7 separate regions of the Homo sapiens genome follow, and regions 1, 2, 4, 5, 6 and 7 are each linked to region 3. The links are contacts of gene promoters, found by promoter capture Hi-C in blood cells and fetal thymus (Javierre and others, 2016). All regions are on one chromosome and are shown on one strand. Each heading gives the region's core, a stretch centred on a gene start or on the middle of the fragment in contact. The rest is flanking DNA. Distances are from core to core; before and after follow the strand shown. Region 1 overlaps DENND10 (DENN domain containing 10). Region 2 overlaps GRK5 (G protein-coupled receptor kinase 5). Region 3 holds the start of TIAL1 (TIA1 cytotoxic granule associated RNA binding protein like 1). Region 4 overlaps GRK5 (G protein-coupled receptor kinase 5). Region 5 overlaps GRK5 (G protein-coupled receptor kinase 5). Region 6 overlaps SEC23IP (SEC23 interacting protein). Region 7 overlaps GRK5 (G protein-coupled receptor kinase 5).

Region 1 (3,493 bases), core at 975-3,474, 480 kb before region 3:
CTTTCTTAATGATGAAGGCTTTTGCAGAGTTTTATTTATTATGTTTTTTTTTTTGAGACAGAGTCTCCCTTTGTTGCCCAAGCTGGAGTGCAGTGGGGCGATCTTGGCTCACTGCAACCTCTGCCTCCTGGGTTCAAGCGATTCTCTTGCCTCAGCCTCCCGAGTAACTGAGATTACAGGTGGGTGCCACCACGCCCAGCTAATTTTTTGTATTTTTAGTAGAGAGGGGGTTTTGTCATGTTGGCCAGGCTGGTCTTGAACTCCTGACCTCAAGTGATCCGCCCGCCTTGGCCTCCCAAAGTGCTGGGATTATAGGCGTGAGCCACCGCACCCTGCCTTGCAGGGTTTTAGTCGTGATTTTTTTTTTTTTTTTCTGGTTGTTGTCTTTTTTTTAGCGACACGGTCTTGCTCTTTTGCCTAGCTTGGAGTGCAGTGGCATGATCATAGCTCACTGTAACCTTGAACTCCTGGGCTGAAGCAGTCCTCTCACCTCAGCCTCCCAAGTAGTTAGGACTACAGGTGTGTGCCACTGCTCCTGGCTAATTAAAAAATATATATATATTTTGTAGAAAGGTGGTCTTACTATGTTGCCCAGGCTGGTCTTGAACTCCTGGGGTCAAGTGATCCTCTGCCTTGGCTTTTCAAAGCGCTGAGATTACAAACGTGAGCCACTGCACCTAGCCCTTTAAAAAAAAAAATGTTGTTACTAGATAGAATTATAATTCTAGGTGTCATGTTACCGTCAGGCTTTTCCCTAATACAGAGATTTTTGGGGGCACTGAGGGTGAAGGGAATTGTTTTTGTTTTATAAGCCTAATAAATGGTAGGCTTTTGGCTATTTTTGTGCGTGAATGTATATACACACACCAAAAGAAGCAAAAAAAAAAAAAGAGAAAAACTCTATCATAAGACTATCTTCTCATTACCTAAGGGTTTCAGTTAGATTATATCTTGGCTAAATGAGATTTCACCATTTTTGCAACCAGCCAGAATAAAAAAGCTTCCTACTCTCATAAGAACCAGGTGAATGTCTCACTGTGGATAAACAGTTGTCTGCTAATGTGGCACTTACACAAAGGGAGATTATTATTGCCAGAAAAGACGCTATCCAGAAGCCATAAACTAAAAACACTACAGAGGTATTTTTGAACAAACATTGGACTCCCATTTCATTTGGTTGAGTCAGGGTTATGTTGCTCAACTGAATTCACTGGGAAATATTCTGGAGTCCAAAAGGCAAGGTTGCTTCAGACCCCACTTCCTGCCCAGAAGGAGGCCCAGAGGGTTTCTCAGCTTGTGCAGTGCGTGGCATTGTAGTATCCTGGATTTCTTCTCCCGTCACAGTGCAAGAGAAGTGAGGACTCGGAGCTACTGCCAGCCGCCTCCTCTGCTTCCTGCCCCTTCATGCAGCACTATGCTCACTCTTGCATGTATGCACATCCAAGTATTTGCACACACACACACACACACACACACAGGTCTGTGTGTACATGCACACACTCATAGGCAAAGACTTCTTTTCTTCATGACAGTTTAACATGGAGTTGCCTCCCTCCATTTCTGGTGAGGAGCAGGCAGGCGTGCCTTCCACACACAGCTTGCTGCTCACAGTGGCAGCAGAAGCCCGCAGGAGGGAACCTCATTCCCTATGTGGCTGCAGGTTCACTGCTGTGGTCCTCTTCAGCCTCTAGTCGCTTGCTGCTAGTGGCCCTGCTAGAGAACCGGGGTTTCATGCACACTTGCAGTCAGCTGTACAGGCCTCGATGTGTGGCAGCCTATGGATGTCTATCTGAACAAGGTGCTTGGGGTCGCACTGTGGGCTTTTCCTGTGGAGTGGTTTTGGGGGGATTTCCCCCTCTGTTTTATCTCTCCTGGCCCAGGGTTGTCATGTAGGAAGTCATCTTATCCTACCAACCTTATGTTTCTCTTCTCTATTACTGTGTATTGTTTCTATTTTATAATTTTTTTTTTTTTGAGATAGAGTTTCACTCTGTCACCCAGGCTGGAATGCAGTGGCGCCACCTCGGCTCACTACCACCTCCAACTCATGGGTTTAAGTGATTCTTGTGCTGCAGCCTCCCAAGTAGTGGGAATTACAGGTGCACACCACCACACCTGGCTAATTTTTATATTTTTAGTAGAGACGGGGTTTCACCATGTTCACCAGGCTTGTCTGGAACTCCTGGCCTAAAGTGAGCCTCTTGCCTCGGCCTCCTAGAGTGTAGAGATTATAAGCATGAGCCACAGTGCTTGGCCTCTATTTTAGAAAGCTAATGGCATTTTGGTTTTTTGTTGTTGGTAGTAATAAAGCACATTTAGAAACACAGGAGAATATGCAGTGAAAACTGAGCTGCCGCCTCCTCCTGTTCCCAGACTCCAGTTCTACCTCCTGATCCCCACCCCACACAACTCCCGTGACCTCCTTCTTTATATCCTATCAGAGAAGTTTTTCTCCCTGTGTGAGCCTGTGTGTGAGTTCCTGGGTTTGAATGTATTTTACATGTGTGAAAGCTCACCACATTCATTGTTCTCTACTTTTTTTCCGTCAAGTTGTGAATTGAATTGGTAATTTTTTTTTTTTTTTTTTTTTTTGAGACGGAGTCTCGCTCTGTCGCCCAGGCTGGAGTGCAGTGGCGGGATCTCGGCTCACTGCAAGCTCCGCCTCCCGGGTTCACGCCATTCTCCTGCCTCAGCCTCCCAAGTAGCTGGGACGACAGGCGCCCGCCACTACGCCCGGCTAATTTTTTTTGTATTTTTAGTAGAGACGGGGTTTCACCGTTTTAGCCGGGATGGTCTCGATCTCCTGACCTCGTGATCCGCCCGCCTCGGCCTCCCAAAGTGCTGGAATTGGTAATTTTTAAAAAAACACTGATGATTGACAAAAGTTGGCAAGCAGTTAAAACACTTGCTTTTTTCATTTAGTCTATGATAAATATAATTTTCAAGTGATCTTTTTTTTTTTTTTTTTGAGACGGAATCTCGCTCTGTTGCCCAGGCTGGAGTGCAGTGGTGTGATCTTGACTCACTGCAACCTCCTCTTCCTGGGTTCAAGCAATTCTTCTGCCTCAGCCTCCCAAGTAGCTGGGATTACAGGTGTGAGCCACCAGGCCCAGCTAATTTTTATATTTTTAGTAGAGACAGCGTTTCACCGTGTTGCCCGGGCTGGTCTCTAACTCCTGGCCTCAAGTGATCCGCCCACCTTGGCCTCCCAAAGTGCCGTGATTACAGGCATGAGTCACTGTGCCCGGCCCTCAAGTGATCTGTCTTAAATATGTTTTATTTTCTTCCCGATTTTCTATCCCACCAGCTCCTGAAAGGCCCAAATAGACCCAGTCATGTTTCTCAAGCAAAATTTAATTTTAGTTGCTCACAGGAAGAGATTTCAAGGGGAAGAGACGGATTCCACATGTGAGCTATAAATGCAGCCAGTTTCCTGTCAGCATTTTCTAGAAGCTTTAACTTGACGATGAATGTCTAATGTGCATTTATCACC
Region 2 (3,526 bases), core at 612-3,111, 330 kb before region 3:
GGATTACAGGTGTGAGCCACCATGCCCAGTCCACAATGTACATTCTTATATCAAAGGCTCTGAGAAGTCCTGCAGTGGAAAAAAAATTTTTTTTTCATTGTATTAACAGACTTTGGTTAATATTTAAGCATGGAATCTCACTTGTGTGTGTGTGCATGTGTAAAACATCTCTTGGCATCTTCCAGAATACAGTTATACAGGCCCATCAGCTTGGCAAACAGGGATGGATGATTCTTTGGCTTTTCTGAGTTAAATGTCTCAGTGTCCTTGGACAAGGAAGAAGTTAAGTCTCTTTTCAATCATGTTCTCAGCTTTTTCTCTCCTCTCTTCTCTTCCCCTCTCCTCCAAGTATTAAAACCTAGTTGAGGCCAGGCGCAGTGGCTCATGCCTGTAATCCCAGCACTTTGGGAAGCTGAGATGGGCTGATCACGATGTCAGAAGATCGAGACCGTACTGGCTAACATGGTGAAACCCCATCTCTACTTAAAAAATACAAAAAAATTAGCCGGGCGTGGTGGCGGGCGCCTGTATAGTCCCAGCTACTCAGGAGACTGAGGGAGGAGAATGGCATGAACCCAGGAGGGAGAGCTTGCAGTGAGCTGAGATCGTGCCACTGCACTCCAGCCTGGGTGACAGAGCAAGACTCCGTCTCAAAATAATAATAATAATAATAAAACAAAATAAAAAAATAAAACCTTGTTGATAACTAATTGTGGGTCTTTTCCTTTTCCCTGACACACATTCTGCAAGAGAAGACAGATGGCAGGCAGGAGGCAGATTGGAGAGAGGTTCTCAGCATGACTTTTCTCAAATGTGATGCTCCTCAAGAGAGTCTATATTTGTTATCAAAATGAGCCACGTGCTTGCATGCCACCTTGAATGCTCTCCATTGACATTTGCAACTTGTTTCTGTGTAATTTTGCAGCCTGGTTCTGCTCAGTTCCAGCAAGGTGACTGTCATTAGGCAGATCTCTTTCCATTACAGGTGACAGAAGCTCAACTCCAACTAGCTTAAGCAAAACAAATAAACAAAAACCTCCAGGGCATTTGTTGGCACATGTGCTTGGGAAGTTGAGTCCTGGGTGGGGCTCAAGTCCTACCATCTGGTGTTTGTCCTTCTCTGTTTCCTGCCTCCTGCTTCCTACAGCTCTTGGCTCTGCTGCTTTCTGAGTGTTGGCCTCTCTCTCCTACTACCGCTCATCCTTCTCCCCATGACGATAAAGATGGCCAGTGGCTGTGTGTCCTTAAAGTTAGCTATCCCTCAGCAAGAAAGACCACCTCTCCCAGCAGCTGTATGTCAAACATCATCAAGGCATGATTCTCATCGGGGCTTGGGTTTTGTGTACACATCTGAAATTGATCGTCATGGACAGGGGTTCACGTTCTGTGCTTCGTGAGATCTGAGTCCTGTGTGGGTAGCAGGGCCCTGATCAGCAGCCTGGCATTGTAAGTGGGGTAGGACTATTCTTCAGCAGTGGGAGGGACCCTGGGTGGACTAAAACCACACTTACCCACTACATGCCCTGCCCACTCCCTTTTCCTCCTGGCCAGGGTGCCCTGAGTAGCCTTGGCATGACGTGCCTCACTGTCATCTGACCAATGAGAATCATTTGTTCAGAAAACTAAGGTCCATAGAGCAAGGCACAGACCTGTCCCTGGGAGCTCAGTGTCCTGTTGGGAAGGCCGACTCAGAGACAGCTTTCATTCTTTTGTGTTACTCCGTGCTGAGCTGGTTGGGGCTCACAGCGGCCTCTTTGGACAGGCAGCAGCCTTGCCTCATCTTAACCTGTATTGCCAGGAACCCAGCAGCCTTCCCACATGAATCAAGTTCATGTTTGTTATCTCAAAGTGCTCCCCACCAGCCTTTAATTTTGGGGGCCTGCTCAGGTGCTGGACTCTGTCCTCCTTGCTTTCTGTTCGTTAGTTTTTATCTTGTTAATTCCTTTCTGAGTCAGGTATTACCAGCCTCTTTTACAGATGGGGAAACTGAGGCTCAGGGTAGAGAAAGCCTTTGCTGAGGCCCCCCCGCAGGTGAGTGGCAGATCAAGGATGTTGACCTAAAGTTGGTGCTATGGGCCTAATGTTTTTGTGCCCACACAATTCATTTGTTGAAGCCCTAACCCCCAGTGTGAGGTGGGGCCTCTGGGAGGTGAGTCGGTTAAGATGAGGTCATGAGGATGGGGCCTCCATGATGGGATTAGTGCCTTTAGAAGAAGAAGAAGAGAGACCAGAGCTCGCTCTCTCTACCACATGAGGACGCAGTAAGAAGGTGGCCTGCACTGAGGAACCAAATGGGCCAGCACCTAGATATTGGACTTCCTAACTTTTAGACTCACGGGCAATGAATTCCTGCTGTTTCAGCCACCCAGTCTATGGCAGCCTGAGCTGATCAGTACAGTCGGAGTTCTCAACCTCCATTGGAGTGAGTGCCTGGGCTCCACTGTACTAAAAGCAAGTAGTCCTCCTCTGGAAGGGCGTATGCATATTTCCAGGCATTTTGGAGCCTCCAGGGAAACCCTGGGCCCTGCAGGTTCTTGTCCAGAACCACTGGCCACACGCCCTCTCAGCCGCACTCAATGCCAGGAGACCTCTATGGCTGCTCAGGAGTGGGTCCCTGCCTGGGGCTGAAGTCCGGGCCCTGGGATCTGCGTTGGGTCCTGCTGTCATGGACTGAGCTGCCTCGGTTCCCTCTTTGGGCCCCACTAACAGAGAGGTTCTCTGAGGACCCCCATCCCTTCAGCTGAACCTAAGGCTACCAGGAGACAGAGGGCATCTGTGGCCTCCCCCAGAAGGCTGTCCTGAGGTTGTGCCCATTGTCTTGGGGAGTTTACTGGAGGAAGCTGCAGGCCTGGACTGTGCAGTCTGATTTCTTTACCTATTTTAGGAACGATGCTGGCTGGATGGGCGCGAAGGCTCACACCTGTAATCGCAGCACTTTGGGAGGCCGAGGTGGGCAGATCACCTGAGGTCAGGAGTTCGAGACCAGCCTGGCCAACATGGTGAAACCCAGTATCTATAAAAACACAAGCATTAGCCAGGCATGATGGTGCTCATGCTTGTAATCCCAGCTACTCGGGAGGCTGAGACGGGAGAACGCTTGAACCCAGGAGGTGGAGGTTGCAGTGAGCAGTGAGCCGAGATGGCGCCGCTGCACTCCAGCCTGGGCAACAGAGCTAGACTCCGTCTCAAAAAAAAAAAGAAATGATGCTGGTTGTTATCAAGAAGAGCCCTTCCCAAACACCCAGCTACCTTCCAATGGGCTTTTCCTTCCCTTCATAACTTGGGTGTTTTCAAGGGTGAGGAAGTTTAAGTAGTGAAGCCGGTGGGGCTGGCCAAGGGAACCCGCTGTCTAATCCTGTGGCTGGAGGAGGAAGCGGGGAAGGTGGATTCTTCATGGAGTCAAGGAGGCTTTCACTGCTTTTTCTTATTGCTTCTGCTGATTTCCCACTAGGCTTGGATTTGGCCATTTGCTGGGGTTGGGTGGGTGGGGGGGAAGAGTTTTTTTTTTTTTTTTATGGAGACAGGG
Region 3 (3,692 bases), core at 643-3,142:
GGGACGGATACTTCAGTGAGACGTTAGAGAACACATTTATTCCTGTACAAGGCCACACCAAAAAAATCTCTATCAATACTGAACATCTATCTTCTTTACTGAGCATCCTTTCTTTGGTAGGAGTGAAGAGATGTGAAGCTAGTCAAACTTCTCGAGTGCCCCTCCACCTTCATCTATTCCCTAAAAAGCAATTTCCCCATCAGAGAGCAGAGCCAAGTGGACTATGATCCTATCAATACCAGGAGAGGCAAGAGAAACAAAGCAGCGATCTGACTCCTTGGTACTCAAGGTAGGAGTGCTAGACCTGGAGAGGCCGGGAAATTAGGGTGCCCAATTTAAACATTTAATTAAAAAGTATTCAGACTTAAAAAAAAAAAAAAAGATGCAGAGAAAAGGAGTGCCACACTATTCAGAAAGGAATGCAAATGCTGAGTCATCACTCTTCATTGGAAAGGAAGGAAACCAGAATTAAGTGGTTGGAAGATGGAATTCATTCATTAGATTGAGCTTCAGGTAAAAAGCAACAGCAAGACAGGAGAAAAAGCGTTCAGAAGACACACATCAAATAGCGGATGAAGACATAATTTTAGCCAACTCTGAAGCTTTCGACGCACAAACAGATTAGGAAGAGGCAACACCTAGAGAGCAAAAGGAGTTTAACAACTGGTTGTCAGTTTAGCGTAGGGAGCGCTCAAAGTAAACTTCTTTATCCAAGAAGGGAAAGATGCTCGGGCAGCAAAAGGTATCCCTTATGTACTTCAAAAGTAGCGGGCGCTAGGCGGGTGTTTCTGACAGCGTGGGCGGGGGCACGTGGGGCATAAAGAGAGAAGGGGCTTGAGTGGTGAAAGAGTGTCCTGCTTCCTCCGAGAGCTTAGCTGGGGAGAAGAGCTGGGAGCGACTCGAGCTGAGGACGTGGAAGGGGTGAGTGCTAATTCCTCAGGGCCCGCGGGGCCCACCCCCGGGCCCACCCCCAATCCTACCCCCGCCAGGCCCTTCCCCCGTGGGCGCCGGCAGCTCCAGGCCCAGCCCAGGGCGTCCAACGCGGAGGGGGTGCAGGAGTTCTCCTGGGCCTGACAGCCTCAGCCGTGCAGAAACCCGGCCTAGGGAGGGCATGCAAAGAAGGACGCCAGAGAAAAAGGTCGAGACAAGCCCCAGACCCCAGGAAGTGACTGTTTGGGGGAAGGGAGGATTTCCTTCCCAAGGAAAAGGGGACAGATGAGGAATGCACTTCGCGTCCACGCCGCCCTGGTCAGGGAGCCGCCTAGAGTCCCGGCTTCGGCCCAGTCTCTCCTGCTCCCTCCCTTAGCGTCCCGCGGTGCCCGGGCCTCTTGGCGCCTGGCACCCCTCGTCTCGGGTACTCACAGAGTCCGGGGCTGCCCGTCGTCTTCCATCATGGTGGGTGCGACGGAGCGATCCCGGGACAAGGGGGAGGGCAGGGTTGGGGAGGGGAGGGGGTGGGGAGGAAGGGGAGGGGGGCTCTGGGCACCGGCTGGGGACAGAGGAAAAGGCACCGAACCCTGCTCTCGGGCTCTCTCCCCCCAGCCCGCTCCGGACACTGCGCTCCAACCAGGAGGAGCAGGAGGAGGAGGAGGATGAACAAAATGGCCGCCGCCACCAGCCAGGCAGGAAACAGGGCAGAGCGCAGGCGCGACCCGCCAGGTCACCGCTCAGGCCAGCCGCGACAGCCTGCAAGGGGGACGACCGAGGGGAGAGAAAAAAGGGCCGCCGAGGAAACCCTGGGACCCGCTCACGACGGATCACGTCGTCGCTGTGGGCCTCTGGCCGGCCGAAGCCCAGCCAGCTCCGGGAGAGATCGGGCAAAAAGAGAAACGTCGTGAAGCCGAAGTCTCTGGGAATTGTGGTCCTGGAAATGAGAGAGGGAAGCACTTCTGCAGAGGACTTCTGGAACCTGTGGTTAAGAGGAGCCGCCGGCGCCCACCCGCGCTGGGACGTGAAGAGGAGACTTCTGGGTAGTGTAGTCATACGTGAGGACGTGCGACGACCAGGAAGTCGGCGGGCTGGGAGGTAAAGGGAAGAATAAAAGCGACATTGAAAGGCGGGGAGACCAAGTGGGGAAAAGCGCTGTCTGGGAAAGCGAACTACAAGTCCCAGAGTTCCTCGCGCCGGGGGCTGTCCTCGGACTGCTCCAGGCATTGTAAGGCTCTTCTGTTGGCCCAGTCTGAGCTGCTGCTCCGCCTTCGTCCAGCCCGAGAGCGGTTTCTTCAACTGTGGCTCAGGCAGCACTCTCCCTCCGCGTGGTGTCCGAGCCAGCAGGGCCGTCCGGCCCTCCTGTGTTCATCAGAACGGCTGGCTCGCGTTAGTCAACCGCCGCTTCGCGCGACAGTCAGAAGAGAGGCTGTGCTGGCGGGGACCCGGAGGGGTTGGGGTGTTTTGGGGACTCGATTTCCCACAAATAGGTATTTCTAGCCTATTTGTTAAATACAAGTAGGTGGCCTGCTTGTAAATTGCTTTACAAGTTTCAGAGGTTTCCCTATCAAATGTCTCATCGGATAGTGGGGTAAGAAGAGGAGCCCTATTATAATGACTTGCCCAACTCCCCCCGTATTCTTGGAGTTAAAAGAAAAAAAAATCCTTGGGCAGAGACGTGCACAAACATAAAGTTGCGTTTACAGACATCAGTCATGTGGGCTAGAAACGCAGTTTTGCATGAAGATAGGGGAAGCCATGTTCATACTAGCTCTGCATCCCTGTAGAATTTGTCTTCTCACCCCCCACAACAGTTCCTGGTGTGCTTTTTTCCTCCTCTAAGTACCTTCAGGAGAAAGTACTTGGTCTTGTAGCTTAGTGAAGAGTGGCGATGAAGAAAGATCTTTCAGCCCATTGCCAGAACTTAACTGCCCCGGTTAGTAATGGCTTAAGAGTTGCTTCTGCCGACATGTACTAAGTGCATGTCGACCTCTGCAAGTGGCGGTGCGTATGCGTGCCACTGAACATTAATCTTGAAAGCAGAATCAACCATGCAGCAAGCCCTTATGTTGTCCATTTTCAGGGGAGGAAATTTCAACCTGAAAGACTTCATAGAGACACGGCAAAGGAGTTGAGCCCCATAAGAGTCCGTAGGAACAACAAAAGGCTCAGACGCCAGGACCCATGGCTAAAATGTATGGGCTGGGGATGCGGGCGGGAGCGGGGGGAAGGGAACTAAAGCTAGAGAGGACCTTGTAGAACCGTGTTGTCAAGAATCTATTTCATGCTGAGGAATTTGAGCTTTCTCTTCCAGGCAGTGAGGAGCCACTCAAAGGTTTTGTCTATGTTTTTAATTGGACCTAGGTGTAGAACTGGATTTAATTATAATCCAATTCATTAACCCATGCCTGGCCCGCTGTGATAGTTTCCTGTTGATGCTGTAACAAATTACTGCAAATTTAGATACTTAAAACAACACGAATTTATTTTCTTACAATTCTGGAAGTCAGAAGTCCAAAATCAGTTACACTGGGCTAAAATCAAGGTGTCGGCAGGGCTGGTTCCTTGCCTTTTCCAGCTTCTAGAGGCTGCCTGCATTCCTTGGCTCTTGGCCCCATCCTCCATCTTCAAGAAAAGAAGCATAGTATCTTCTTTCTTCTCTGCCTCTGTACGTACATCGTGATTCTCCTGCCACCCCTTTTCATTTACGAGAACCTTTTGTGATTACTTTGGGCGAAGATTATCTCAAGATTCTTAATCACATC
Region 4 (3,732 bases), core at 799-3,298, 360 kb before region 3:
GTTTGTTTAACAACACAAAATTATAGCTAGATAGGAGGAAGAAACTCCTAGTGTTCTATATCTGTAGAATGACTGTAGTTAACACTAATATGTAGTTTCAAATAGCTAGAAGGAGGATATTGAATGTTCCTAACTGATATGGTTTGGCTGTGTTCCCACCCACATCTCATCTTGAATTCCCACGTGTTGTGGGAGGGGCCCGTGGGAGGTAATTGAATCATGGGGGGCAGGTCTTTTCCATGCTGTTCTCGTGATAGTAAGTCTCACAAGATCTGATGGTTATTATAAAGGGGAGTTTCCCTGCACAAGCTCTCTTTGCCTGCTGCCATCCATGTAAGACGTGACTTGCTCCTACTTGTCTCCCACCATGATTATGAGGCTTCCCCAGCCATGTGAAACTGAAAGTCCAATGAAACCTCTTTCTTTTGTAAATTGCCCAGTCCTGGGTATGTCTTTATCAGCAGTGTGAAAAGAGACTAATACACTAGCACAAATAAATGATAAACATTTGAGATGACAGATATGCTAATTACCCTGATCTGATCACTGTACATCATATGAATTGCAACATCACCATGTACCCCATAAATACGTAGTTATGTGTCAGCTAAAAGATAAAAAACTATAATATTTGCACCCAGGTGATGCTGCAGGGCAGTCAGGAGATGTGGCTGGCTCTGGGGAAAGGTGTCAGCTTGGTCTGGGCCTCCCTCAGTGGCCAAATGGCCAGTGTGAAGTCTTGGAGGGTGAAGGGCTCCTCCATGCCAGAGGCAAGCACCTGGCAGTAGCTTTGAAGAAATGTGGGAGCAGACGGTGTCTGTTGTTTTTCTGGCCCACATCTACCCCCTCTTCTTCTGGCAACAGCACCTCCATTTTTCTTGGGGGACCACTCCTCCCTGTATTTAATCCACAAGGTTGGGTGGAGATGATGTCTCATTGGTTCCATCAGTGAGCACATGACTCAGCCCTGGCTGTGCAGAGCCTTGATTCTCTGCTTGGCCTCAGGGATGGGGATGGGATTCTTGGTTCCAAAAGGGCTGCTCTTCTGCTGCTGGGGTTGCCAAGCTGGTGGAGGGAAACTTGGAGCTCTTGGTGGCCGTTGCCACAGCCTATCTGAGAATAAAGGCGGCATAGCACGATGTTGAATCAAAGGCTGATGGGGTGGGGGAGAGAGAGAGAGTCCTCATTGCATTGTTTCATTTTGGTGTCCAGCCATTCTGGGGGCCAGATGTACCCCCCTGGTTTCCTGTTTGGGTGAACGTGTGACTTGCCACTTACAGTCAAAGGATCCTGACTCATTCAGGGTTAAAAGTCACATCCTTAGGGGATACCTGCCTTAAAGAACCCAAGACAGCAGGCCAGAGACATGGGGCCTGGGTCAGGAGGAGCCAGCCCCCTGAGTCAAGGAAGGCTGGATGTGCACCTTTGTCCCAGGCTTTGCTTGAGCAGAGGGCCAGGTGTATTTGATATTTGCCACAAAGAATACAATCCTTAACCTGGCTGCCCTTGTGAGACTCCAACTGTAGCAAAGAAAGATTAGGAAACAAACATCCCAGTCACCATGGAAATGTGAACCCAAGGTGTTAGGAACAATAGCTGTGTGAGTCCGGAAGTGGATTCTGTCCACACACATGTTGGTTTGATCCCCCATCTATTTCCTTGTGGGGGCCTGGGCATATCTGTGAACGTATGATATAGCCAGCTGCTCTAGGGCTGGGTGCCACCTCCCATTAGCCTTGGTTTCATCATCACCAAAATAGCTGTAAACCTAATACACTGCTTATGCATGTCAGAACCTCCTTACAGCCTCCCTCGGAGGTAAATATTATTTTTATCTTAATTCCACAGATGAGAAAACAGAAGCTCAGGGAGGTTCCTAAACTTTCCCAAGGTCACAGTTGTTGATGGAAGAGCCAGGGTTTGAACCCAGCCCGTTGAGTCTGTGCTTTTTTAACCACCACGTTCCTCACGTTGGTGTTGACAAAAAATATTACTAAAAGTAGTTCATTCTTACTCTACATGTCTTATTTCAATTCTGCCACAAACCTATGAGGCAAGTACAACTGGTTAATTCCATCTTATAAACGAGGAAGCTGAGGCACAGAAGACTTAGGAATCTTGCCCAAGTTCCACCGTCAGTAGGAGGCAAAAGTACATTTGGGGGTTACTTTTTTCAGGTGGATTTGAAATGATAATGTGTCTTAAATTTAATTTGGAAGCCAAGAATGGGTGATAACTGTAATTTTTTCTTTTCTTTTCTCCTTCCCCTCCCCTCCTTTTCTTTTCTATTCTTTTCTTTTCTCCCTCCCCTTTTTTCTTTTCTTTTCTTTCTTCTTTTCTTTTCTTATTATTTTTTGAGACAGAGTCTTGCTCTGTCACCCAGGCTGGAGTGCAGTGGCACGATCTCGGCTCACTGCAACCTCTGCCTCCTGGGTTCAAGTGATTGTCCTGCCTCAGCCTCCCGAATACCTGGGATTATAGGTGCACGCCTTGTATTTTTAGTAGAGACAGCATTTCACCATGTTAGCCAGGCTGGTCTCGAACTCCTGACCTCAGGTGATCAGCCTGCCTCGGCCTCCCAAAGTGCTGAGATTACAGACATGAGCTACCACGCCCGGCCTAATTAATTAATTTTTTTGAGATGGAGTCTCACTCTGTTGCCCAGGCTGGAGTGCAGTGACACCATCTCAGCTCACTGCAACCTCTGCCTTCCCAGGCTTGGGTGATCCTCCCACCTCAGCCTTCTGAGTAGCTGGGACTAGAGGTGCACACCACCAGGACTGGCTAATTTTTTTTTATTTTTTTTATTTTTGTAGAGACGGTTTCACCATGTTGCCCAGGCTGGGATAAGTGTAATTTCTAAATCTGGCTTTCATCAGTGGTGATGTTCTTCATGTGTAGATTTATACTAGGGAAACAAATCAGGAGGGGGAACAAGGTGGACAGAGAATAATAGCAACTTGATTTGCCTATTATCCCTGGAAAACCATATCCTGGAACTCACTAGCATGTAAGTAATTGGAAAATGTTAAAGCAAAAGAGCCAGGTTTAGAAACAAAATCACACCATCAAGTCTATGTAAATGAGTTCCTCGGTGAAGAGAAAAGCAAATGCACTGCTGTTTGTGGGCTGGCTGGCTGTGTCCCAAGTGCTGCAGAGTGGGAGTCTGGGACCAGTTGTTTTTTCATTGAGGGCCCCTTACAAGGCACACTCGGGTTGTTCAGACTCCATGAAGCTCATGAATTGGCTCAATAACAAAAAGCATGAATCATTTGAACGTGAAGGTACAGGGACATCTGTTTGAGTAATTTCTGACAGTTTTTTTTTCCTTTTTGAAAATGTGTTATATTTAGGATTTACTTGAGAAATAAGGTGGACTTGGGGACTGACAGCCCATCAGTTTCATGGGAACAGGGCCTGTGTCTTTTTATTGCTCTTTTTGTGTATGTCTGTAGACAATAGGTGCTCAATAAGTACTTTGTGTAAATGGTGACTTTAGGAGCACCTGGATTCTGCCCCAGGAGATTCCTGAGGGGCTGGCAGGTAACCAAAGGCTAATGGAGGTTTACAGCCAAGTTCCAGATGGTTCAGGGGCCCGAACCCCTGGGTGGAGCCTCTCTTGGGCCATATACCCATTCCCATGCCTGGCTGTCCCCCATCCCTTAGACCGTGGCTGCTGCTGCTGGACTGTGTTCTCTTGTGCAGATATTAACGGTGCCAAATAGTGCCAGG
Region 5 (3,799 bases), core at 646-3,145, 380 kb before region 3:
TGATCAACTAGGTGTGAACAGAACTGGATTTTTTTCCCCGAAGAGCTGAGGCTGACTGGGGTGTGACCTCCTTAGCTGTGTAGACTGCATTGACTCTACTGTGCCTAGAATTTGGACAATGGCCTGAGGGACCAGTATGTGATTTAAGCATAATTAAAAGGTTATACTTGAGGGATAGACCTGAATCTGGAAGACAACTGCTAATTTTCTGGGGCACTGAGGGGTTTTTGTTTTGTTTTGTTTTTTGAGACAGGGTCTTGCTGTCACCCAGTCTGTAGTGCAGTGGTGCCATCTCAGCTCACTGCAACTTCGACCTCCTGGGCTCAAGTGATCCTCCCACCTCAGCCTCCTGAGTAGCTGGGACTATAGGCTCGTGCCAACATGCCTGGCTAATTTTTGTATTTTTTGTAGAGATGGGGTTTCGCCCTGTTGCCCAGGTTGGTCTCTAAACTCCTGGGCTCAAGCAATCCATCCACCTTGGCCTCCCAAAATGTTGGGACTACAGGTGTGAGCCACCACGCCCGGCCAACACTGTTTTTATGAAGGTCTGTTCCTAGAAATGGAAACCATTAAAAACAATGGCAAGAAGACCCTTTGGTTGAGGAATGACAAGATCCAAGAGGAAAACTGGTGTGCCATGGCGCCTTCCAGGCAGAGCAGGTGTTCAGGGCAGAGGCCTGGGCGGGTAGACGGGCTGCAGTTCTGGAGTGAAGACGGTGGAGGCTGCATTCTTTTCTGGCTTTCTGTTGGGATTGGCCTGGGTATGTCCTTTGACATAGCCTGTCACAGGGAATGACCGAAAAGATTAAAGGTACCTGTTCCTCTTCAGGGGCTCTGTTCAACGTAGTAGCCACTAGCTGTATGTTGTTATTTATACTTAAATTAATTAAAGTTAGGAATTATGTTCCTGAAGCATGCAAACCACATGTCTAGTGCTCAGTAGCCATGTGTGGCTAGTGGCCATTGTATTGGGCCATGCATATAGAACATTCCCATCATTGCAGAAAGCTCATCGGGACAGAGCTTCTCTAGAGGATTCTGTGCATTTAGTGAGTGTGATAACCCCATGACTTCTGACATGAAAAATTAGGGAAAATTAAAAGAAGCAGAGGGAGGCAGGGAGTTGGGGAGAGAGACAGTGTGGAGGAGGGGGAGAAGGAGAGATGAGAGGGGGAAATGGGTAGGAGAAGGAGAAAATAGGGAAGGGGGTGCGGAGAGTGAGGAAGAGACTGAGGAAGGGGAGGGGGCTGCACCATGGAGGAGGGGTGAAGGCAGGGGTTGGGAGTTGGGACTGACTCACCTAAGAGGAAATTCAGGTCAGGGACAATCATGGATGGTGGCGGGGGTGGAGGGGGTTAAGCTACCATATCCTCCCCCACCCCCTTTTTCAATATCTTGTTGGGAAATTTGCCTAAATTGAGCAACTGACTTTCCTGATTCAAATTAAGTGCATGATATAGATACATACAGAGCCCCATGTTCCTTCTTGAAATTCTTAATGTGGGGCTATTTTAAAGCAGTCATTTTATTTAAAAAAACAATTAAGTTGCATAAGTGCGGCAGATCTACAGAAAGAATAGAAAGAAACCTCCACAGGCAGGTGATCTAAAATGGGGGTGAAGACAGGCAAAACCATTTTAAGGGTTTTCATTTTTTCTGAGCTGGGAAGACATCAGGAAGAAGGTATACTTAAAGATGCCAAAGAAACTCACTGTTCTTGTATCCACTTGAAAATGGTTTTCTCCTTAAAAACTGTTTCTTGTGAGATTTGAAACATTTTAACAATAACTCAGAGCACACTTAGAAAGAAAGTGTTTGAAACAATAAAACAGTTCATTGCTTGTTCCCTGGTGTCCGAAGCAAGGGAGTCTATCTGACGTACCAGAGTCAACTGGTGACATCCTCCTAAACTAGGCCAGTTTTGATAGGGCCTACTGTGTTTCTAAGAACTTGTAATCTGTGGAATATCAAAAATTTTTTTAAAAAGGTAATGATGAAATGAACCCCAAGGACAGCTTCTGGGGCCTGTGCAGAAAGCAAGGGTAAACAGATAAGCTGAGATAAACAGATAAGAACATGCCTCTGTCCTGAAGTGGCAGAGGCCACAGGGCCACTGGTGCCTCGGCTTCCCTGAGCCTTCTCAGCTGATCTGCTGCCCTGTCCTCTGTTTCCGGCATAGAGGTTACCCTTGGTTTAACGGATGGGGAAACTGAGATGAAAGAAAGGGAGTCAGGGCCGGGTGCAGTGGCTCACGCCTGTAATCCCAGCATTTTGGGAGGCTGAGGCAGGAGGATTGCTTGAGGCCAGGAGTTCAAGACCAGCGTGGGCAGCATAGCAAGACCCCTATCTCTACAAAAAATAAAAAATAAATAAAAATGGCCAGGCGTGGTGGCTCACGCCTGTAATCCCAGCACTTTGGGAGGCCAAGGTGTGTGGATCACTTGCGGTCAGGAGTTCAAGATCAGCCTGACCACCGTGGTGAAAACCCATCTCTACTAAAAATACAAAATTACCTGGATGTGGTGGTGGGTGCCTATAATAATCCCAGCTACTTGGGAGACTGAGGCAGGAGAATTGTTTGAACCTGGGAGTGCCACTGCACTCCAGCCTGGGTAACAGCGAAACTCCGTCTAAAAGGTAAAATAATAATTTAAAAAAAAACATAAAAATAAAAAAAGGGAGTCACTTGTTCAAGGTCACTTGAACTGTGGACTTTTGGGGAGCAATTGCAAGTGGATCTCCCCTATCCTCCAAAGTGCTTTTATGTTCCAAAATAAATCTTTCTTCCTTCCTCTCATAATATATGCCAAAACAACAAACTCTTCTCGAGATGGTAGGGTTTTTAAGTGTAAATACCCATGAGGTTGTAATTGTGGAAGAGAAAGAGTGTCTTTGTCAGATTCCCTGGGAAAAGGGGCAAATTGGGAATATAATTTCTGTCTCAGACCGTGATTTCAGCTGAGGGCCAGTTTGAGAGCAGTTGGGTAAATTAATTCCTACTAGGTTGTAAATGACTGATAGGTGAATCCTCAAAGTAGATGTTTCCATTTTAAAAGTAGAACTGTGTATCAATACAACTGAATCTGTGTTTGAGGACAAGGCAGGATGCCTACATGCCATACATAAGTGCCTGTACACACATAAGCACATGTGTACGTATGTGGTATGATCGCCTGTGGAGGCCCATTACCTGTACTCTCTCGCTGCCTGGGCCCCTCCTACCAACACATCGGACAAGCGAGGCCAGCCTCTTGCGTTATTTTTCCCCTCAGCATGGCTAGTGGCCAACGAATTGCCCCCAAGGGACTGGATGTGAAGCCCCATGGGTGGTGGTGGTGGGGACAGTCATGGGAGTTTAGGTGTGGGCCACATCATTGGCAGCAGCACCACCTCCTTTCCTTGGCAGAGGCAAGAGGTGGGCAGCGGGCATGCCAGTTCCTGCTGGCTCACCACACATAGCTCCCATCTGCCCTGCACCCTGCTTCCCTGGCCGCTTACTGCTCCTTAGGAGGTTCTCGCCCTCAGTTACCTCTGCCTGACAGTGGTACCTTATGTGCAGGCTCAGGTTTCTGCAGCTCTCTTTACTTACTACCCAAGTAGGGGGTTAGAGAGGGGGAGGCGAGGAGGGTTTTTCTTGCAGATTGCAGGGCATCCCCACCCCCTCACCAAAGAGAGGGTATGAAGTGGCCTTTTCCCCCAGAAAAGCTCTCTCCGGATGACCCCTTGCCATTTTTCAGTGGTAACCTTGAGTGTTTGCATTTAGAAACCATGTCAACCCGTTTGTGTGTGTGTGTGTGTG
Region 6 (3,469 bases), core at 419-2,918, 330 kb after region 3:
ATATTTCATCGTATGCTTGACTATAGCTTTGGAATTTTGTATACCATATGTGTATTTTCTGTTAATTAATAGAATGATTTAGGTGTGGAAGCCTAAGATTTTATAGCCTAAACTGATGCATGATTTAAATACAAAATAACTAACTTGTAAAAAGTTGAGTGGCTCTTAGATTGCTTTAGATGATGTGGTTTCTTTATAATTTTCATATTCTCATTTCAGTTCTTCTATCACTAGATTGATTAATGTGCTTGTCTGTTTCCTTTTAAAGCTTATGTGTACAGTTGATGACCTGAAGGAAATGGGGATACCCCTTGGACCCAGAAAGAAGATAGCTAACTTTGTAGAACATAAAGCAGCCAAACTGGTAAAGTTCACCTCTGACTCAAGAAAAACTAAAACTCATGGTGTGACCAGCTCGTTTATATTATAGAAAATTTTAATACTACTATGGTTAGGTAAGCTAGTTTGCTCCCTACCTAGGGCACAGTAATGGAGCTGATGGAAACCCAGACTTAGGAGTCAGAGTTGGGCTTAAGTCCACATTAGGCTAAGTGACCATCCTGGTTTTCCTGGGACTAAGTTCCTAGGATGAAGGGCTTTCAGTTTTAAAATGGATATTTAAGGTTTTCCTGGTGCAAACAGTGGTTAAGTTCTGACAAATAAATTCTCAGCTCAACTGCTCATTAACTGCGTATTAATGAGCAATTTGTATTTGGTTTTATTCATTTGTTTATTTTGAGATGGGATCTTGCTGTGTTTCCCACTGCTGGTCTCAAACTCCTGGGCTCAAGCTATCCTCCCGCCTCAGCCTTCTGATCATGAGTGATTTTCTTAATTTTTCTGATCCTTTGTTTTCTTCATTTCTAAAATGGAATAATACCTTCCTTACAGGATTGGAGTAAGCATGAAATAATGCATGCAAAGCTTAGCACCAAGTAATAGCTCACTTTCTTCCCAGTCCTTACCATCTAAAGAGATGAGGAAAAACATACACACTGAAGTCTTAAACACTAAACAGCAAAAATTGTTAACAATACAAAACAAGGCAACAGCTAAAAAGCATTTAAAACTAGAACAACTGGAAAATATACTTGTTTTATTAATTTTAATTTATTGATCAAATTAATTTTACAGAGGTTTTCTAATTAGAAAAATTAGATGACTCTTAGGGTGGCCGTCTTATTTGTATTGTTATTAACATGCTCTTTGATGATCCTTCCATCTTTTGAATTTCTATGGTTCTATTATTTTACTACCTGTTTGGAACTTAACCTACATCATTTCTTTATATGGGAAATGACTATAAAGTCATAGGACTGATTTTTTTTTTAATGGTTAGCTTAAGGAATTGAGTCTTCTCAGCATTTTATTGAATAGCAGCTACCTCTTTTGAGTCAGGCACTGTGTTCAATTCTTGGGAGCCGGAGATTAACCAAGAGTGTGCTGTCTAGTTGCGGGGAGCACGTTGAGCTCAAATGACAACATACCAGCCCCATAATAGCGTGCTGTGTGTGCTGTCCTGAGGCAGATGAGAGGTGGCAGTTCTGGCTTGTTGAGACAAGCATGGGGTTGGTGAGAGAAGACTTCTCCAAGGTGATGGTGCTTGAGCTTGAAGGAGGGGTAAGGTCAGGGGAGATGGCCTTCTGGAATCTGGCATGTGTTTTCCTGTAGCATCAGGGAAGCTGGAAACTGGGAAGGGCAGAGGGTTCCAAAGGCCCAGGTGGCAGGTGTGGAGGCTTGGATTTTCTCTTGTAAGGGAGTGGTTTTCAAACATGTTCTTATGGCCATGAAAGTCATGGTGTTTTTAAACATTACAAAATGCTGACCTGCTTATTCTATCACAAGTTATGATTTAGCACCAAATCATCTGTGTAGTCTAAATTTTAATTTTAACTTTTGGACTGTGGAGAGTTTGCTTGGTCACAGTGCACAGATGAAGTTGGAAAGGCGTGAAGTGGAGGCGGCTGCAATCTTACATAGTAGTAATTGTAATTGTACAGTGACTGAAAGAGAGATGATAGGGGTATAAGGTAGGAGGTGGAGAGGAAGGGAGCAACTCAAAAGACATTTTAGACATAGACAAGCAGTATTTGATTAAGTGCTGAGAAAGGTTATTAGTTTTGGCAGTTAAGAGGTATCTTTCATGTCATTTTTCTTGTGTGTTGAATCGTTCTGTAATTCCAATTTACAAAGAGCTTTTCATCTCACCTGAGCCTCACAACAACCCTGTGAGTAGATCCCCAGGCTTTTGTCTCTGATGAGCACAATAGTCAAACTGAGACTAGGACACAAGCATGTCAGTGTTGTTTCTGTATACAGGCTGCGTGCTCCATACAGAAAAATGCTTGTCTCCGTGTATACATCAGTGAAGCAAAAGCCTATAAAAAAAAAAACAAAAAAAACAAGAAATGAGAAGCTTTGTGTTCAGGCCCTACACCATGTTCTTAATTTATTCTGTAATGAAAGGGAAAAAAGTAGAAAAGGATTCTATAGTTCTTGAAGAATTTCTAGAAGGAGACTGGTTTATGGACTGCAGTTGCTTAGATATATAAATTATGGCATTATAAGAATGTTTTGAAATGAGCAAAAATCTATAGAGTGATCTTATTTTTTAAATTAAAAGGTAATTGCCTTTGGATGAACCATGAAACTTTCTCAGCTGAGTTGCCATTGATTGCTTTACACTTCTTACAGATAACAAGGTGCTACTAGATCAATACAAAAGTAATATGGTGTGTCCTGTTGATTTACTGTAACTGAAATAATGGGACCAAAATTAGCGATTATTTTATAACAAGGAGATCAAATATTTGTGATATTTGTGACTGTGTGCTTTTTTTTTCTTTTTAAAGCATCTTAGTAATTTTCATTTGAAAAGGAATTGTTTCTAGTGTTGGGGATATTGATAGTCAAGTATGTATATGTTGGTTCCGTTTTTTTTTTTTTGAAAGGGAGTCTTGCTTTGTCTCCCAGGCTGGAGTGCAGTGGCACGATCTCGGCTCACTGCAACCTCTGCCTCCCAGGTTCAAGCCATTCTCCTGCTTCAGCCTCCCAACTAGCTGGGATTATAGGCGTCTGCCACCACACCCAGCTAATTTTTGTATTTTTAGTAGAGATGGGGTTTCACCATGTTGGTCAGGCTGGTCTCAATCTCCTGACCTCAGGTGATCCACCTGCCTTGCCCTCCCAAAGTGCTGGGATTACAGGAGTGAGCCACCACGCCCAGCCTATGTTGGTTCACTTTTAAACACTGTTGGTTCACAGTTTAAAAAGTATTGCAAATTTAACAAAGCAACTCTTGGCAACAGGACAGTTTCTGATCTCCTTAGACAGCTCTCAGCAATTTAGAATGTTTTATGAATTTAACAGGAGGTACTTCTGAGTGAGAAAGCAGATTTAAAGTGAGGAACCCTGAAAATGTTCCTTATTTCGGATTTTAGGCTTAATTTTGTGTTGCCTCCGAAGGGCA
Region 7 (3,836 bases), core at 382-2,881, 310 kb before region 3:
TTACAGGCATGAACCACCACGCCCATCTGATTTCCCGTTTTCTGCAGGGTAAAGCCTCAGGGCCGGCCCATTGCTTTCAGGACTTTTCTCACTCTGTCCCCAGCACAAGGATCTTCTCCATCTAGATGGATTTGCCACCATGTGCTGCCTCCATGCTTGGGCTGGGTCATTCTGCTCACATGGACACCTCTTCACCTTCCTCTCAGGGACTCTGCACATGCTGCCTTCACTGCCTCCTTGGGAAAAAATTGCTCCTCCCGGCTGCTCCCAAAGCAGTTCTTGTGGGTCTGGCCAGGGACCCCCCTAACCCTACTTTACTAACTACCCTGGGTTGGCAGTCTCTGCCCCGAGCTCTCCTGTTCCTCTCCCCTGCTCTTGAGCTCCCATTAGGTGTCGAGCACCCAGAAGTGGTGATGGCTCGTTCATTTTGGCCATGTCTGTGCACGGCTCACCCCTGGTGCTTGTATGCGGATGCTTGTGACCACACAGCCTGTATTTGAGCCACTGTTCTGTAATCAGCCTCTCCTGTGGTGGCATCTTCTTCACAGGGAGGGATCTGGCCGACCTCGGGTCTTAGCACGGCTGAGCCTTTGAAGCTGGCAGGTTGCCCTGGGTTCCCGGGGTGGTGGTTGGCCGCCTCTTCTCTTGGGCCCCTGCCCATTTGGAAGCGTGCCCTTGAGCACTGCCATCCCCGAGCCAGGCCATCAAGTCATCCGATCCCCCGAGGTGGCTGAGAAGCTGGCTGAATGTCCCTGCTGTGAACCAGTGATGGAGAACCAGGCTGCTACTTAGCTTTGTAGATGGATTCGGTAAAGACTAAATCTCTTATTTCTAAGACGTGATCTCATTGCACAGACAACAGCCTGAGTGGCCTGTCACCCAAGCAGAAATCCTGGAGACATCTGTTGAGCCTATCCTGTTTCTCATTGCCATTGGTGACCTCCCTCCTGGGCATCTGTCCCTTGCCCTCCCCTCCTTGGTCTGCGTCTCTTGCTCTGCTGGCCACTGTCGCTTTCTGTGTGATCTCCCCATGCCAGTGTGCCCTGCTGTGATTTGCCTTTTCACACAGCACCTCTTCCTTGAGTTCGGACCCAAGCTGCACTCTCCAAACCACTGACTTCACTTGCTCCTCCCCCCACTCACATTTTGGGGCCCTAAATTACTTTAGTATCGTGAGTGAGCACTGGGCTGTCTCTTTCACAGTCTAGATTTGCACAAACCTTTCTCTGAGCCTGGACCATTCTCCCAGGTCTTCACCAGGCCAGTTCCTCCTGGAGCTCCAGACTGCAGCAGAGCTGTCTCTTGCTGGGATGGGAGACACTTCTCTGGCCCCAGTGCTGCTGTTCCCCCTGCTAGTTTTCCCCCTTTCCTTGGCAGCCCGTCTCACCAGGCTGTCTTGTAACAGTCTGTTTTCCTTGTCTGTCTCCCTCACCAACCTGATGTGTCTGCACTGCTGTGTCCTCAGCTCCTAGACCAGGGTCGGGTTCCGGCTGGGGCAGGAGAGGCGTGTGCTGCGGCCCTGGATGGGCTCATGGGCAGATGGACTATCGAGCAGATGGATCAAGGCCCCCTGTGGGTCCAGGTTTCTCCCCAGAGCCTGAAGGGTTGGCCCCGGTGGTCTGTGACAGCTTCCTGCTCTGGTGGTCAGCAGCTGGGCACAGAACTACCTGGAGTGGAGGTGAGATCCCAGGAGTTGTCAGGAGAGTCCAGGGTTGGCGGGGGCCCCAGAGGCTTCCGGGAGGCTTCTAGAAGCTCTTGAGCGCTTTCTCCTGCCCAACATGAATGTCTTGTCTTAAAGGTGAGGCCTTGTGAGAAAGCAGGACTAGGTGAGGCCGGAGGAGTGACAGTCGCCCAGTTGATGCTGTGGAGTTCTCCAGGCTGCTGGCCCATCCAGTCCCTCCTCTAGGCCCTGAGTTACTGTGTCACTGGGGCCTGGTCCTGCTGCAGAGTTGGGGCACATCTCAGGGCCTTTCAGAGCTGATAAGGGGCCTGGCCTGCTTTCAGTTTTTTGGTTTTGTTTTGAGGCTTCCAGTTCATTAAAACAATTAAAATGCCCTAAGAAAGCTATAAATATTAATATTATGGTATTTTAAACTGGTAACCTTTGTCAGGATGGTGTTTTTTTTTTAAACCAAAAACAACATAGCAATATAATTAGTCTAGTCACAAGGTAATGCTAGGATTTATAGGAAATATTAATTCATAGTGTGCTCAGTCTGGGTGGACCTGTGATGGGACGGGAGTGTCCTCCAGCCCTGCAGCTCAACATGGTCACATTTGGAGATGAGATGAAGTATTTGACTTTGAGGCTTCTGTGAAAATGAATCCACACCCCATTCCCACCTCGTCCCCTAACCTGCACCCCTCCAAGCCCTGCAAGTCCTTCTTCTAGGCTGGGAAATGAGGACATAGGAGTGAGGCTGCAGGGAAGGAGTGAGACATACACGTTCCTGAGGCCTTGAGTTCCAGGCTTCAGGAACGCCTGCCCGTGCCCGGGCTCTGTATTCCCTGGCCAGTGCTGATGGTGTCTCTGGCAAAAATGCAAGTACCCTTGGAGGCTAGGCCTTGGGGTGGAGCTAGCTCAGACACCTGCCCTCTGGGAACATTGCCTTCTTCTGCTTTCTAATGCTGATGGCTTCCCTGAGATCCCAGAGTCATCAAGGGTCACCCTGCAGATGGGACCATGAGCCCCACTCCCCAAAATGTGGCTTGCTCAAGGTCACATAGGTAGTAGCAAAGCTGAGACGTGAGCCTGGCCCTTCAAAGCCTAAATTGGGGATAACTCTGGCAAGAGAATGTTTCAAGGTTCATCTTTGTGTCCCCAGAGCCTGGCATGTCATAGGGAGATAGAAAGTATCTGTTGAATGAGCAAGAGCAGCCAACATGGATCGAGAGCCAGGAACTGTGGTAACTGCACATCTGTCTGATCTCATTGATTCCTCCCCAGCTCTGGGCAGTGTACTTCGGTACTCGGATCCCCTGTGGGCAGATGAGGAGGAAGCTGGGTACAGGTAGGAAATGAAACCTGCCCAACATCAAACAACCAGTCAAGGAAGCTGAGGTTTGGGCCCAGATGGTGTATGTCAGAGCCACTGTCTAGGCCAGCGCTGTCCAGTGGAAATAAACGTGAGCCTCTTATGAAGTAGAAAAAATTCTAGTAGCCACCTTTAGAAAAGTAAAAGAGGAACAACTGATATTATTTTAATAATATTTTAATAATATATTTTATTTAATCCAGTATCTGCAAATGGTTATCATTTTAGTATATCATTAATATAAAAATCCTTTTCTTTTTTGTAGAAATGTTGCCTGGGCTGGTCTCAAACAGTTCTCTCACCTTGACCTCCCAAAGTGCTGGGATTACAAATGTGAGCCACTGAGCCCGGCTATTTAATCCGATATGTACAAATGATCATTTTAGTACACCATCAATATGAAAATTATTAACAAGATATTTTACATTCCTTTTTCTATGCTAAGCAGTTACAATCCAGTTTATCTTACCTCAGAGCACCTCTGAACTCCCACCAGCCACATCTCAAGTGCTCCTCAGCTTCTGTGTCCAGGGGCTTTGGCGCAGAACAGGCTGCTGTGGCCTCTCAGTCGTCAGTGGGTGAATATTGGGAGTTGTTAGCCATTTGGAGGTGTGGGAAGCATGAGGAGGTGATGAAAGGGCCTAACAGACAGAGGTGGAGGGTCAGGCCTGAGCCTGTGTACTGGGCTGCCAGTGACACCACGTGTCTCTCCCAAGTGTGAGTGCTGGATGCAAGGCTGCCGTCCTGGCAAAGGGATGTCTCACTGGGGCCTCTCGTGGAAATGGAGGGGAGGTCCTGGGC

Evidence for each region. Contacts are between HindIII fragments. The CHiCAGO score rates a contact against its expected background, and 5 or more counts as called.
Region 1: a contact is called between a fragment that was not itself captured here and the fragment with the promoter of TIAL1 in region 3, in 10 of 17 cell types (activated CD4 T cells, non-activated CD4 T cells, endothelial precursors and 7 more). The highest score is 13.4, in activated CD4 T cells.
Region 2: a contact is called between a fragment that was not itself captured here and the fragment with the promoter of TIAL1 in region 3, in 7 of 17 cell types (activated CD4 T cells, naive CD4 T cells, total CD8 T cells and 4 more). The highest score is 10.6, in activated CD4 T cells.
Region 4: a contact is called between a fragment that was not itself captured here and the fragment with the promoter of TIAL1 in region 3, in 2 of 17 cell types (naive CD4 T cells and naive CD8 T cells). The highest score is 7.9, in naive CD4 T cells.
Region 5: a contact is called between a fragment that was not itself captured here and the fragment with the promoter of TIAL1 in region 3, in 9 of 17 cell types (non-activated CD4 T cells, naive CD4 T cells, activated CD4 T cells and 6 more). The highest score is 19.7, in non-activated CD4 T cells.
Region 6: a contact is called between a fragment that was not itself captured here and the fragment with the promoter of TIAL1 in region 3, in 1 of 17 cell types (total B cells). The highest score is 5.6, in total B cells.
Region 7: a fragment that was not itself captured here is called in contact with the fragment with the promoter of TIAL1 in region 3 in 1 of 17 cell types (naive CD4 T cells); the score reaches 6.2 in naive CD4 T cells.

The regions. Positions count from the first base shown.
Region 1 is chr10:119,112,814-119,116,306 of GRCh38, forward strand. The region is part of intron 3 of DENND10 (DENN domain containing 10); the gene reads left to right. Among named protein-coding and RNA genes, the nearest start is that of DENND10, 10 kb to the left of the region's middle. The HindIII fragment of the contact is 2,453 bases long and covers 999-3,451 here.
Region 2 is chr10:119,263,276-119,266,801 of GRCh38, forward strand. All of the region lies in intron 1 of GRK5 (G protein-coupled receptor kinase 5), which reads left to right. Among named protein-coding and RNA genes, the nearest start is that of GRK5-IT1, 57 kb to the left of the region's middle. The HindIII fragment of the contact is 6,203 bases long and covers 1-3,526 here.
Region 3 is chr10:119,595,072-119,598,763 of GRCh38, forward strand. It overlaps TIAL1 (TIA1 cytotoxic granule associated RNA binding protein like 1), which reads right to left and starts at 1,893. Exons shown (of 12, transcript NM_003252.4): 1 at 1,363-1,893. The coding sequence starts at 1,394. LOC105378512 (a long non-coding RNA gene) reads left to right here and starts at 493. Exons shown (of 2, transcript XR_946358.3): 1 at 493-921; 2 at 1,543-3,692. RefSeq lists silencers at 906-1,005, 1,416-1,525 and enhancers at 1,124-2,122, 1,536-2,125, 2,123-3,120, 3,016-3,105. The HindIII fragment of the contact is 6,118 bases long and covers 601-3,692 here.
Region 4 is chr10:119,232,355-119,236,086 of GRCh38, forward strand. All of the region lies in intron 1 of GRK5 (G protein-coupled receptor kinase 5), which reads left to right. Among named protein-coding and RNA genes, the nearest start is that of GRK5-IT1, 26 kb to the left of the region's middle. RefSeq lists enhancers at 1-257, 3,220-3,279. The HindIII fragment of the contact is 9,362 bases long and covers 1-3,732 here.
Region 5 is chr10:119,214,294-119,218,092 of GRCh38, forward strand. All of the region lies in intron 1 of GRK5 (G protein-coupled receptor kinase 5), which reads left to right. Among named protein-coding and RNA genes, the nearest start is that of GRK5-IT1, 7.8 kb to the left of the region's middle. The HindIII fragment of the contact is 8,317 bases long and covers 1-3,799 here.
Region 6 is chr10:119,920,621-119,924,089 of GRCh38, forward strand. SEC23IP (SEC23 interacting protein) reads left to right here. Exons shown (of 19, transcript NM_007190.4): 12 at 269-364. Among named protein-coding and RNA genes, the nearest start is that of SEC23IP, 30 kb to the left of the region's middle. RefSeq lists an enhancer at 1,205-1,374. The HindIII fragment of the contact is 1,492 bases long and covers 923-2,414 here.
Region 7 is chr10:119,281,050-119,284,885 of GRCh38, forward strand. All of the region lies in intron 1 of GRK5 (G protein-coupled receptor kinase 5), which reads left to right. Among named protein-coding and RNA genes, the nearest start is that of GRK5-AS1, 56 kb to the right of the region's middle. RefSeq lists an enhancer at 45-545. The HindIII fragment of the contact is 8,364 bases long and covers 1-3,836 here.